Linked DNA regions of Homo sapiens: region 1 is linked to region 2. The links are contacts of gene promoters, found by promoter capture Hi-C in blood cells and fetal thymus (Javierre and others, 2016). All regions are on one chromosome and are shown on one strand. Each heading gives the region's core, a stretch centred on a gene start or on the middle of the fragment in contact. The rest is flanking DNA. Distances are from core to core; before and after follow the strand shown. Region 1 holds the start of WDR7-OT1 (WDR7 overlapping transcript 1). Region 2 holds the start of ST8SIA3 (ST8 alpha-N-acetyl-neuraminide alpha-2,8-sialyltransferase 3).

Region 1 (5,752 bases), core at 1,247-3,746, 310 kb after region 2:
GCTTGGGCCAATCTTTTGATGGGGAGCAGCATACCTTAGTGCACCCCTGTGCAAGAGGCCTGGGCTTCCACCTTGGGACACAGTGAATGGTGGTGCCCAGAGCCAGTCCCAGCCTGGTGCCTAATGAAACTATCAACAGCACCTGTGAGGTTCCACATGGACTCCTGTGAAGTGTTTCTTAAACTGTAGGTGCACACGAATCATCCAGGAAGCTTGCCAAAATGCAGTTGTGACCCAGGAGGTCTGGGTGTGACCTAAGGTTTTACATTTCTAAATAGCTCCCAGGGGATATGGATGCGGCTGGTGCCCAGACCACACTTTGCTTTTTAGTTTTTGTTTTTGTTTTTGTTTTAATTATACCTTAAGTTCTGGGATACATGTACAGAACGTGCAGGTTTGTTACATAGGTATAGGAATACCTGTGCCATGGTGGTTTGCTGCACCCATCAGCCCGTCATCTACATTAAGTATTTCTCCTAATGCTATCCCTCCCCTTGCCCTCCACCCCCGACAGGCCCTGGGGTGTGATGTTCCCCTCCCTGTGTCCATGTGTTCTCATTGTTCAACTCCCACTTATGAGTGAGAACATGTGGTGTTTGTTTTTCTGTTCCTGTGTTAGTTTGCTGAGAATGATGGTTTCCAACTTCATCCCTGTTCCTGCAAAGGACATGAACTCATCCTTTTTTATGTCTGCATAGTATTCCATGGTGTATATGTGCCACATTTTCTTTATCCAGTCTATCATTGCTGGACATTTGGGTTGGTTCCAAGTCTTTGCTATTGTGAACCATGCTGCAATAAACATACATGTGCATGTGTCTTTATGGTAGAATGATTTATAATCCTTTGGGTATATACCCAGTAATGGGATTGCTGGGTCAAATGGTATTTCTGGTTCTAGATCTTTGAGGAATCACCACACTGCCTTCCACAATGGTTGAACTAGTTTACAGTCCCACCAACAGTGTAAAAGTGTTCCTATTTCTCCACATCCTCTCCAGCATCTGTTGTTTCGTGACTTTTTAATGATCGCCATTCTAACTGGCATGAGATGGTATCTCATTGTGGTTTTGATTTTCATTTCTCTAAGTGATCATGAACTTTTTTTCATGTGTTTGTTGGCCACAGAAATGTCTTTTTTTGAGAAGTGCCAGACCACACTTTGAATGGTATGGCTGTAGCTCAGGAGTCAGTCACCAGTGTGGACTGAAAGTTTGTGTCCCCTCAAAATACATACATTAAAACCTAATCACCAAAGCAACAGTATTGGGAGATGGGAACATTGGGAGTTGATTAGGCCATGAGGGCAGAGCCCTAGTAAATGAGATTAGTGCCCTCATAAAAGAGGCCCCAGAGAGCTCCCTCACCCCTTCCACCATGTGAGGCCACAGCAGGAAGATGCATTCTGTGACCAGGAACTGGGCCCTCACCAGACACTGAACCTGCCCATGCCTTGATCTTGGACTCCCCAGCTTCCACAACTGTAAGGAATAAAGTTCTGTTGTTTATAAGCCACCCAGCTTATGGCAGTTTGCTATAGCAGCCAAAATGGACTAAGACAGCCACCTTGTCTGCTGAAGGGCCAGATAGTAAATATTTTAGGCTTTGTGGGCTAAGAGGCAAAATTGAGAATATTGCACAGAGAGAAAACAAATTTCCACACATTTTTTCTTGATGAAATTCAAAATATAATAATTGAATACATTTTTTTTTGGTAATTTTAGGAGTTCAGTAAGGGGAAAATCACCCTAAGCAGGTTTTCAACATGAGGAATGTAGACTCTACCCTTTTCTACCCAGACTCTTCTTTGTTATCTAATACCATATTTTACAAACAGCAAGAAATATAAGCCCCAGGAAGTGAAACAACAAGAATTGTTTCCAGTGCATTTCTGAGCCGGCAATGAAGCTTAGCCTTTGTCTTCAAGAAATAGATCCAATGTGACAGACACTGCAGCTTTGTATTTTTTGACTAAGTTATTAACCAATACATTTGAAGTAATTCAGCCTTCTACTCACCCTGTGGCTTGTCATGTGGGATGGTGTTCTGAGGGTTAACGTAAATACAGTTCGTAGAGGTGCGTCTCACTCCTGGAGCTGGTGTTCCTGACTGAGGGACTGCAAGTCTGAATAGTGTAAATGGAATCTGACTTCCCCACGGCAGCAATGCTATAATGTGGGATTATGTGAATGGGAATTTTCTGTGGAAGGATCCTACCTGCGAAGGGAACAGTAGCAGTGAAGGAATCAAGGTGTGAACATGGATGATGTTTTCCAAGAATGTGAGTATTCTGGACTGGCAAATGCCATTGGTCCCCCATCTCTCGCACTGGGGAACCCTGGGCTTCTGCCTCCTTCCTGACATTTCACTCACCAACTCCTCTAACTCCTGCCTCTTACATGTCCCTTGGCCCTTCCTTTTGGTGTCCATCACACCTGCAATAGTTTGAGTTCTCAGAATCTCTAGATGTGCAGCCATCCCTGGCCTCCCTGTCACAACGATCTCCATTTTCTAAACTATGATGCATCCTGCCACCAGGTTTAGCCAAGATATGGGATCATTGTTGCCCTGAAAATCATTGAGAACTCTCCAGACCTCTCAGGAAACAGCCTAGCTCCGTGTCACTGGCTACAAAGATCTTCATGCTGGCTTCAGCTCATGAGTTTGAATCACTTCATGCCATGTCACTGTACACTGTACAGTCTGTTTTCAAGGGTTGGCTGCAAGGGGCTCAGCCAGTGGGGAAGATGATTATATCATATGACAGGAGAAAGAGGTGGGTGTCTGCAGGGCTGGCTCCTCTAGAAGCCCAGTGATGTCACTGAGGATTTACCCCAGTAAGTTGGCTTGAGCCAAGGTGGGTTCCAACATAGGCCCAAAATGGCTTGTGGGTTCCCAGGTATCACAGATTCACACAGCTATGTCCACAGATAGAAACTTCTACGTGAATGTCTCTTTTCACTGGGGAGGAAAACCTTTCCCAAGAGCACCCCCCTCCCACCTCATGGGCCAGAATGGCACTGAAGGCCTTACTTATACCACTAGGCACTGCATGAGCTTGCTGGCTTGAATTAATCAAGCTTCCATTTCCAAGGCTGATAAACTCCAGCCTGAGCACATGGTCATTGGTGCAAAGAACAGAGCCAAGCCCAGGCTTAGAAGCATGGAATAAAGGGGAACATGGCTCTGGGTAAGGGACTGGCTACATCTGCTGCTCCCTGAAAACATCACCTGCCTTCACAGTTCCATGCCTTCAGTCACGTCTCCCCTTTGTCTGAATGTTCTTCCACCCTGGGAAACTCCTATTCATCTTTCAAGATTCAGCCATAATGCCACCACCGCTGCAGTGTGACTGTGTTGGGAAACTCCAAGTGGCAGAGAGCTGCAGGAAGCCTCTAGGCTCCAGCCAACAGCCTGCAAGGGCCTCCAGTGACAGCCAGCGAGAAAGTGAGGCCCCCAGTCCTACAAGCAGAAGAAATTGAATTCTGCCAACAATGACATGAACTTTGAAGCAAATTCTCTCCCTCACAAGCCTCAGATGGGACCATAGACCCAGCCAGCACCTTGATTGCAGCCTGTGAGAGATCTTGAGGCCAAGGCTCCTGGCTAAGCCTAGGCTGGATGCCTGGTTCCGAGAAGCTGTAATGCCATAAATATGTGTGTGTGTGCATGCGCGTGTGTGCATGCGCATGTGTGCATGCAAGTGTGTGTGTGCGTGTGTGTGTGTACGTGTGTGTGTGTGTGTTTTGAGACAGAGTCTCACTCTGTCGCCTAGGCTGGAGTGCAGTGGTGCCATCTTCGTTCACTGCAACCTCCGCCTCCCAGGTTCAAGTGATTCTCCTGCCTCAGCCTCCCAAGTAGGTAGGATTATGGGTGTGTACCACCACACTCAGCTAATTTTTGTATTTTTAGTAGAGATGGGGTCTCACCATATTGGCCAGGCTAGTCTTGAACTCCTGACCTCAAGTGATCTGCCTGCCTCAGCCTCTCAAGGTGCTGGGATTACAAGCATGAGCCACTGCACCCGGGCAAATGTGTTTTAAGAAGTTTGTGCTAATATTGTTACTGTATAGATAATTAACAAACCCCGTTTCCCCCAACCCACTCCAACCCATTCTCCACATTGCAGCTGAGTGGTGTTTTCTAGCTAAATTAAATCACACCTTTCAACTCACAATTTTTGGATGGTTTTTGAGTCCCCTAAGAGTGCCCTTGACCATTGTCTACAGGATTCAATACTGTCCAGATGCCTCACTTGTGGCCACACCTGGCTCATTACCTGCTGTCACTCTCCCTTCTGCCTCAGGGACCTCACACGTGCTATTTTCTTCTCTAGAAGCTCTTCCCGCTTCCAACTGCTCCACCAACATCCAGCTCCTTATCTTCCTTCAGAGACCCCGGGTTGACCTTGCCCACTCCTTCCCTGGGCTATTGGGTCTCAGCTGCCCTTGTTTCCGTCACTGCTCATGTTACAATTTGTGGCTGGCTTAGTCCCCACCCCAGCCCACTAGACTGTGAGCCCATAAGGGCAGGTGTCACAACTGTTGCCTTCCCCACTACAATCCCAGCACCTAGTTCTCTGCCTGATGCATGGTAGATGTTCACTAGATATTTACCAGATGAATGAATGGGCTTAATTCTCATCGGAATCTACCAGAATGTATATGTTCCAGTGAATGTTTATCTTAATGTCTCCTGACTCTACAGTCAGAGGAGACATTCCCAAGGCTGATGCTCATTTCTTTTCTCTGTCCCCTCCTCCTTTGTGCTCCCATTGTATGCTTCAGGCTTGAATCACATGTCCTGGGGAGGAAGGCTGTGGACTAGAGCTGGAAGAGGAAAAAAAAGGAATGAAATCAGGGATGGATGGAGCTCAGGTGGCTGGGATCCAGGGAGGGACGGCTGAAGAAGGAAGCACTGAAGGAAGCAGACAGAGGCCTGGGATGCCAGGGAGGTGACCCAGAACCCAGTGCCTGTGTGCATAGTGCGTGTATCTGGCTATGCACAACCATTGAGGATTGCTCCAAGTTAAACCATCAGAAGGAGGGGCTGCGGGCGTGTGTACACTATGGATAATGGGCCTCACAACATCCAGCGCATTAGCTAGATAGCCTTTGAGATGCATAAAGGATGTGAGTGCCTGCACTGTATTAATTTCACCGTTGCTAGAAATGCCTGGAAAATAATAGGCATTCAATAAGTCACTGTGGAATAAATAAATGAAGATTGAATTTTGAGGTCCTTGGTTTTTTATTGAGGTCAATATGAGAATAAAGCATGTCTCTTTCGCTACTATAAAGCTGGCCTTGATGATAGCGTCCATTGATGGAGAGGAAAGAGCACTTTGGATTTTAATCCCAACTCTACCACTTTACTAGCTGTGTGACCTTAGGCCAGTTACTTAACCTGTCAGTGTATCAGTTTTCTAACCTATACAATGTGGGCTAATTCAGAATTATTGAGAGACTTAAGTGAAATTACATATGTCAAATGCCTCACATGGGCTCCAAGCACATCTGGATCCTCAATCCCTTCACTTGTTAGAAAAGAGACCTGAGATGTGTGTCACAGCCTGGAGCCTGCTGCAGGGCCAAAGCTGAGGCTAATGGATGTGAGTATGGTGGCATATTATGGTTTGCTCTAGTAGGTTCTGATATATTCCAATATTTCCCAGAACGAGATCATCAGGGATGGGGAGCCAAGACTATGTAAACCCGATATGTGACAATAGAGACTGGAACAGCCCCTGTCC
Region 2 (5,285 bases), core at 1,668-4,167:
GAATACCCACTGAATTTGTTTTAATTCTGCCCATAGATTAAACTTTTAAAAGAGAGAGAGAGCAATAACTAGAAATGCTAAGATCAAAACACAACTCCCTAAATAGAGTGGTTTGTAAAATAAGTATTCACACTTCTAATGAATACGCTAGATGGCTCACATCCCATTTAGCAGTAAAATAATCCCACCATGAAGGAAGGAGTAATGAGTTATCGTGGTTTGCTAAGAGTAGACCAGAATCACTGAGCAGAATAAATACATTTGAACAAATCTCATCCTTCTTCCACCTAAAAAAACAAAACCTCAAAACCATCTTATGTGTATAAAATGAAACCGCTACAATTAGTAGGAATTAAGTTAGGTACCTTTACAGTAAGTTAAAAGCTGTAAAGACAATGAAAACAGGCAAAACCAAAACAAAACCATAGTTAAATATCTACATACATTTGGGCCAGCATTTTCACGAGTAATTTGATGGAGACAGATTATGGCATTTTCCGTGTGTTTCAAAGAAACAATACCACTTTATTCTATTTTTCAAGTTTTTTTCAGTGAGGAAATGAAAATGCATTGGGTGGTCTTTTTGCAACTAACCTTTTGTCTGTTTTTTTTTTTTAAATAGATGGCTTTGGCAGTACTTGCCAGACTTGTTAGCTGTAAATCATGGTGCTCAATCAAGCCCAAGTGGAATGCTTTTTTTTTTTTTTGCTATTCAAATTGGTCCTGATATGTCCTTTTTATGAGAGGACACTACACACACAGGAGAAGGTTCCTGATCATTGCTTTGTGCAGTCATGCCAAGAAAACAATGCAGATACACCTGATGGTGAGGGTGGGGCGTATAGATGTTTGTTGTTTTAGATGTTTTTGTTTGCTTGTTTTTGTTTTGTTTTGTTTTGAGCTCTTGAATTCTTAAAAGCACCTTTTGGATCTTTTCCTCCTATCCTACCTTTGATGTAAAAACGCTGTCCGATTAAATTTCCACTTAGAAGGTTTCTCTTGGAGTTCCTGGGTGAGAGAATTCGTAATGGGCACGAATGACGGGTCTAGAAACTTCAGCGCAAATTGTGACCTGGAGAGGAGCATGAGCACAGACAAGCGTGCTGGCCTCAGCTCGGGGAAGCCGAGGTAGCCATTAAAGTGCAGCGGCTGGGGCGAGGGCGGCTGGTACGCGTGCGGGCTCCGTTCCGTCCCGGAGCCCCTCTCATTTGGTCCACCCTCTGCTCCCACACACACCCGAGAGAAAAAAAGAAAACTAGGGAACCCCATCTGCATTGTCCATCCCTCCGGGTGCCGGAGAGACCATAAAATGGCCGTCATGCGGAGAGCAGGGCGCACGCCGGGCGCAGGGCTGGAGCCCGCGGCGCTGCGAGGACCAGGGAATCAGCACCGCGGACAGCGGCCGCCCCGCCAGCCTGACCCGCTACGCCTTTGCAGCCCCATAGAATTGTTTTTGGAGAAAGGGCAGAGGAAACCGGAGACCCAGGGAAAGTCTGGGGGTGGTTCCTGCCTTAACCTCTTCCTTCCCAAACCCACGTCCGATTTCACTTCCTATAACTTGGCTGGGGACCCCCGGGGGCCGCCGGCCTACTCCGCTCCTCGGTCCAGGCGAGGCTCCTCTGGGTTCCTCGCCTCGGTCCCAGCTTGGACCACAGGTGGCACTTTGTAGTTGCCACCTGCCCGTCAGGAGGCCCTGCTGGGAGAGTTCCCGGGGTCACAGAGCGGGGCGGGGGCTCTCGCAGAGCGGCGTCAAGCTGCGCCTGGAGCCTTCACAGGCCGGCCCAGCGCGGAGCGGTGACTCCGACCTGGCGAGGGTGGGCGGCCCTTCCGAGGCTCGCTTCCCGCAGGGGGCGGGGGAATTGCAGAAATCCCGGAAAGCTGGTGGGGGGCGGTGGCTGCGGGGGAAAGGGTTGAGAGAGAACGCCCCAGGGGCTTCCTGAGAATAAACCCGCGTGTCCTTTGATAGGCGTGGGGGAGTAAAGGAGGAGGGCGCGAGGGGAGTCCGGCGCCTGCGCCATTAAACCGCCAGCACCGCCCCGGGCCCGGCCCGCGGAGTCTGCGGACAGGGCGCGGGGAGGGCGCTCCCCTCACGCCTGTCCATCTCTGCTCGCCGCCCCCTCCCGAACAAACACACCGTCTTTCCCTCCACCCTCACCCTCCTGAAAGCCTCCCCCAACCCCCATTTCTGAAATGAGGGAAGGGATGCTGAGGAAGAATACGAGAAATGCAATCACATCGATTTGGACAGCGGCTTCTAGGGGCTTTGGGTTAAAAAAAAAATAACAGGGAGGGGGAAGGGAGAATTAGAGAGAGGAGTGGAAGGACCGCGCAGTTATCTGGCCCAAAGAGTCTCGGAGAGGCCAAAACACCCCTCCCCCACGCCTTCCCTTCCCCAAACACCCCATCAACCAAATTCCCGAGGGCACTAACACAGAGGCCCGCACTCACCGGAATCCCGCGTGGAACATGTACATTCGGGGCGCCCCCGGGCTGGCGTACTTGGGAGTGGTGAAGATGTTCTCCTTTTTCAGGGACACGTAGCTGATGAGCGATAAAATCAGCAGGGCGACGCTGAGCATGACCAGCCCCAGCACACTGGCGACCCGGGCCATTTTGCAGTTTCTCATCCCGGGCTGGGCTGGGTTCAGGGAAACCGGGGAAATCGGTCCATTGAGCGGCCAGCAGCTCGCTGGCGTGTATATATGTGTGTGTGTGTGTGTGTGTGTGTGTGTGTGTGTGTGAGCGCGCGCGCGTGTGGCGGAGGAGGGGGACCCGGGCGGGGGTGGGGGGAGGCCACCGGGGCCGGGGGTTGGGGCTGGCAGGAGCCCCGGAGAGCAGCGGGACCCCGTAGGCAGGGGCGCGCGGGGCCCGGTGCCGAGCAGGAAGATGGAGGGGCTGCGCGGCGGCGTGGCGAAGGAGCGCGCAGCGCCGTGCGTCCCCGGCCGCCGGCTCAGGCTCCCCCGCGCGTTTCCAGCGAGGCTGCCATCTCCTCCGCCGCCTGCAAGATAAATGTGATTGGAATAATGTTACAGTTCGATCTAAGCACAGGATTTAATTAATGAACTCTAATCTCCCAAATAACCGGGGGGAGGGGGTGCAGGAGAGGGAGGGAGTAGAGGGAAATGGTGGAGGGAGGGGGACTGAGGCTGCCAGGCTGCAGCCCGAGCCTACGGCCTCCCCGGCTGAGGGTGCCGGCGAGGAGGTGGCTGTGGGGAGACGGGATCCCAAACTTAGTTTAATGGACCATTCATTACTTTATAATATCACGGAATAGAGAGACAAATAACCGGATTTGCTGTCCTGGAGGGTAAACAACAGCTGGGTGCTTCTCAAAGAAGCAGGGAGGATGGTTTTTGGAAGGCAGCTATTTAAAAGCATCTCCCCTCGTTAAGGCACCGCCCCGGCCCCCTGCCCCCGCCATCCTCCCACCCCAAAGGAAGCTCCAAACAGCAACTGGGCCTGCCTGCCTCGGGAGCCCTTAAAACCTTCTTGGAATTTGCCAGAATGACTCCCCTGTGCGCCTTGTATGCCCACCACATACTTCACTTATCCCTAAAGGGTGGGTAGTGCCTAGCAAAGTTGCGAGGTGACCTGTGAGTCGGGAGGGCCTGCCTTCCTCTCCCCTTTCCGTCTTCCAGTGGATGGACAATGTGCTTGCCCCTGACTTGACTGGGCCTGTTGAAGTCAGCCCTGGTTTAACTCTCCGTTGCCCACTCTTCAGATCCATCCTTCGGGCCTGGTCTCCTGATGGGCTAGGTGGCCTGAGCCTCCCAAAAGCTGAGGCCATTAAAAAACACAGAACTTTTTATGAAGCAGCCCAAGAACCAAATAATAGAGGCTGCCTCTGAGAGTGGAAGGCAAACGCACTAACACTTTGCATTGCTTGACCTTAAATTTATTTTAGCATATTCACGTGTTTCTTGTATATCCATTAGAAATACAAATTAATCCATTTTCAGTCATGCAGTTGGGTGCTCAGGGGAAACTAGCATGTTTCTTTAGCTCTGTCCTTTGCAATTAGCTTATGGCCTCTGCTACCCTAGCTTTACTCTTCGCTTGGTCCTCCCAATACTAGTTAATAAGCACTAATGAGGGAAGCTAGGGGTGAGAAATTGGCGTTTGAGTTCTGATAAAACAAGTTGAGATTCTTCCAAGATGGTTATGACTTCTTTCTCTCCTGAACTTCTTGCCTTGTAGGCTTTCATGGACCTAATGTTATTATCTGTCTGGAGGCTGTAAATTCCTTGAAGGGGTGAGCTCCTGGATTGTAAGCTTCGGCAGAGCAAGGCTTGTCTTACTTCTCCAATACTGTCTCTTACACATGTCATGCTTGCTAAATGTTTGAAGACCTGATGAGCTCCCTTGGGAAACATATCTGTGTGGTTGTGGACAGTGGCACAAAGAATGCTCCTATTTGTTTCCAGTGACAAAGGGGGTCACTTTGCACCCACTAGAGACTTTTTAACCAAAATCTAAAAGTGTGTGTCAGGAGGACACAAATAACCTCCTTTCCTCTGTGGGGCTTTTTTATTATTTAAAAAAATTTAGAAAAGGCTTGCATGCCTGGATATGATGAACACTTGAACTGTATTTTTTTAAATTGCTATTTTTTAAAAATGATTGTATGAGTAAGGTGTAAAATGCCAAAGGGAGTAAGATCTTAAGAGAGCCATCTAGGAATGACACCTGTTAGAAAAAGTCTTCTTGAACCAGAAATCAGGAAACATGCTATGGAGAGGCAGCCTGGGGTAGTGTTACACCTTCAGACTGTGGAGCCAGAAAGACCTGACTTCAAAAGCATACTCTGGGTATTATCAAAAACACAAAAAATAACAAATGCTGGCAAGGATGCAGAGAAAAGGGAACTCGTATACACTGTTGGTGGGAATGCATTCTAGTACAGCCACTATGGAGAACAGTACAGAGGTACCTGAAAAAAACTACAAACTGAACTATTATAAGATCCAGTATTCCCATGACTGGGCGTTTATGCAAAGGAACGGAAATCAGTATGTCAAAGAGATATCTACCACCATGTTTATTGCCACATTGTTCACAATAGCCAAGATATGGATCAACCCAAGTATTCAACAACAGATGAATGGATAAAGAAAATGTGGTATATATACATAAAGGAATCCCATTCATCCATAAGTAAGAATGAAATTCTGTCATTCTCAGCAACAGGAATGAGCCTGGAGGACATTATGTTAAGTGAAATAAGCCAGGAACAGAAAGTTAAACACCGCATGTTCTCACTCATACACAGAAGCTAAAAAAGCTGA

What was found. Contacts are between HindIII fragments. The CHiCAGO score rates a contact against its expected background, and 5 or more counts as called.
Region 1: a contact is called between a fragment that was not itself captured here and the fragment with the promoter of ST8SIA3 in region 2, in 1 of 17 cell types (endothelial precursors). The highest score is 5.2, in endothelial precursors.

Annotation. Positions count from the first base shown.
Region 1 is chr18:57,037,885-57,043,636 of GRCh38, reverse strand. WDR7-OT1 (WDR7 overlapping transcript 1) reads right to left here and starts at 3,658. Exons shown (of 3, transcript XR_001753461.2): 1 at 2,019-3,658. The HindIII fragment of the contact is 1,172 bases long and covers 1,911-3,082 here.
Region 2 is chr18:57,350,189-57,355,473 of GRCh38, reverse strand. ST8SIA3 (ST8 alpha-N-acetyl-neuraminide alpha-2,8-sialyltransferase 3) reads right to left here and starts at 2,917. Exons shown (of 4, transcript NM_015879.3): 1 at 2,449-2,917; 2 at 950-1,072. The coding sequence starts at 2,627. The HindIII fragment of the contact is 6,120 bases long and covers 1-4,274 here.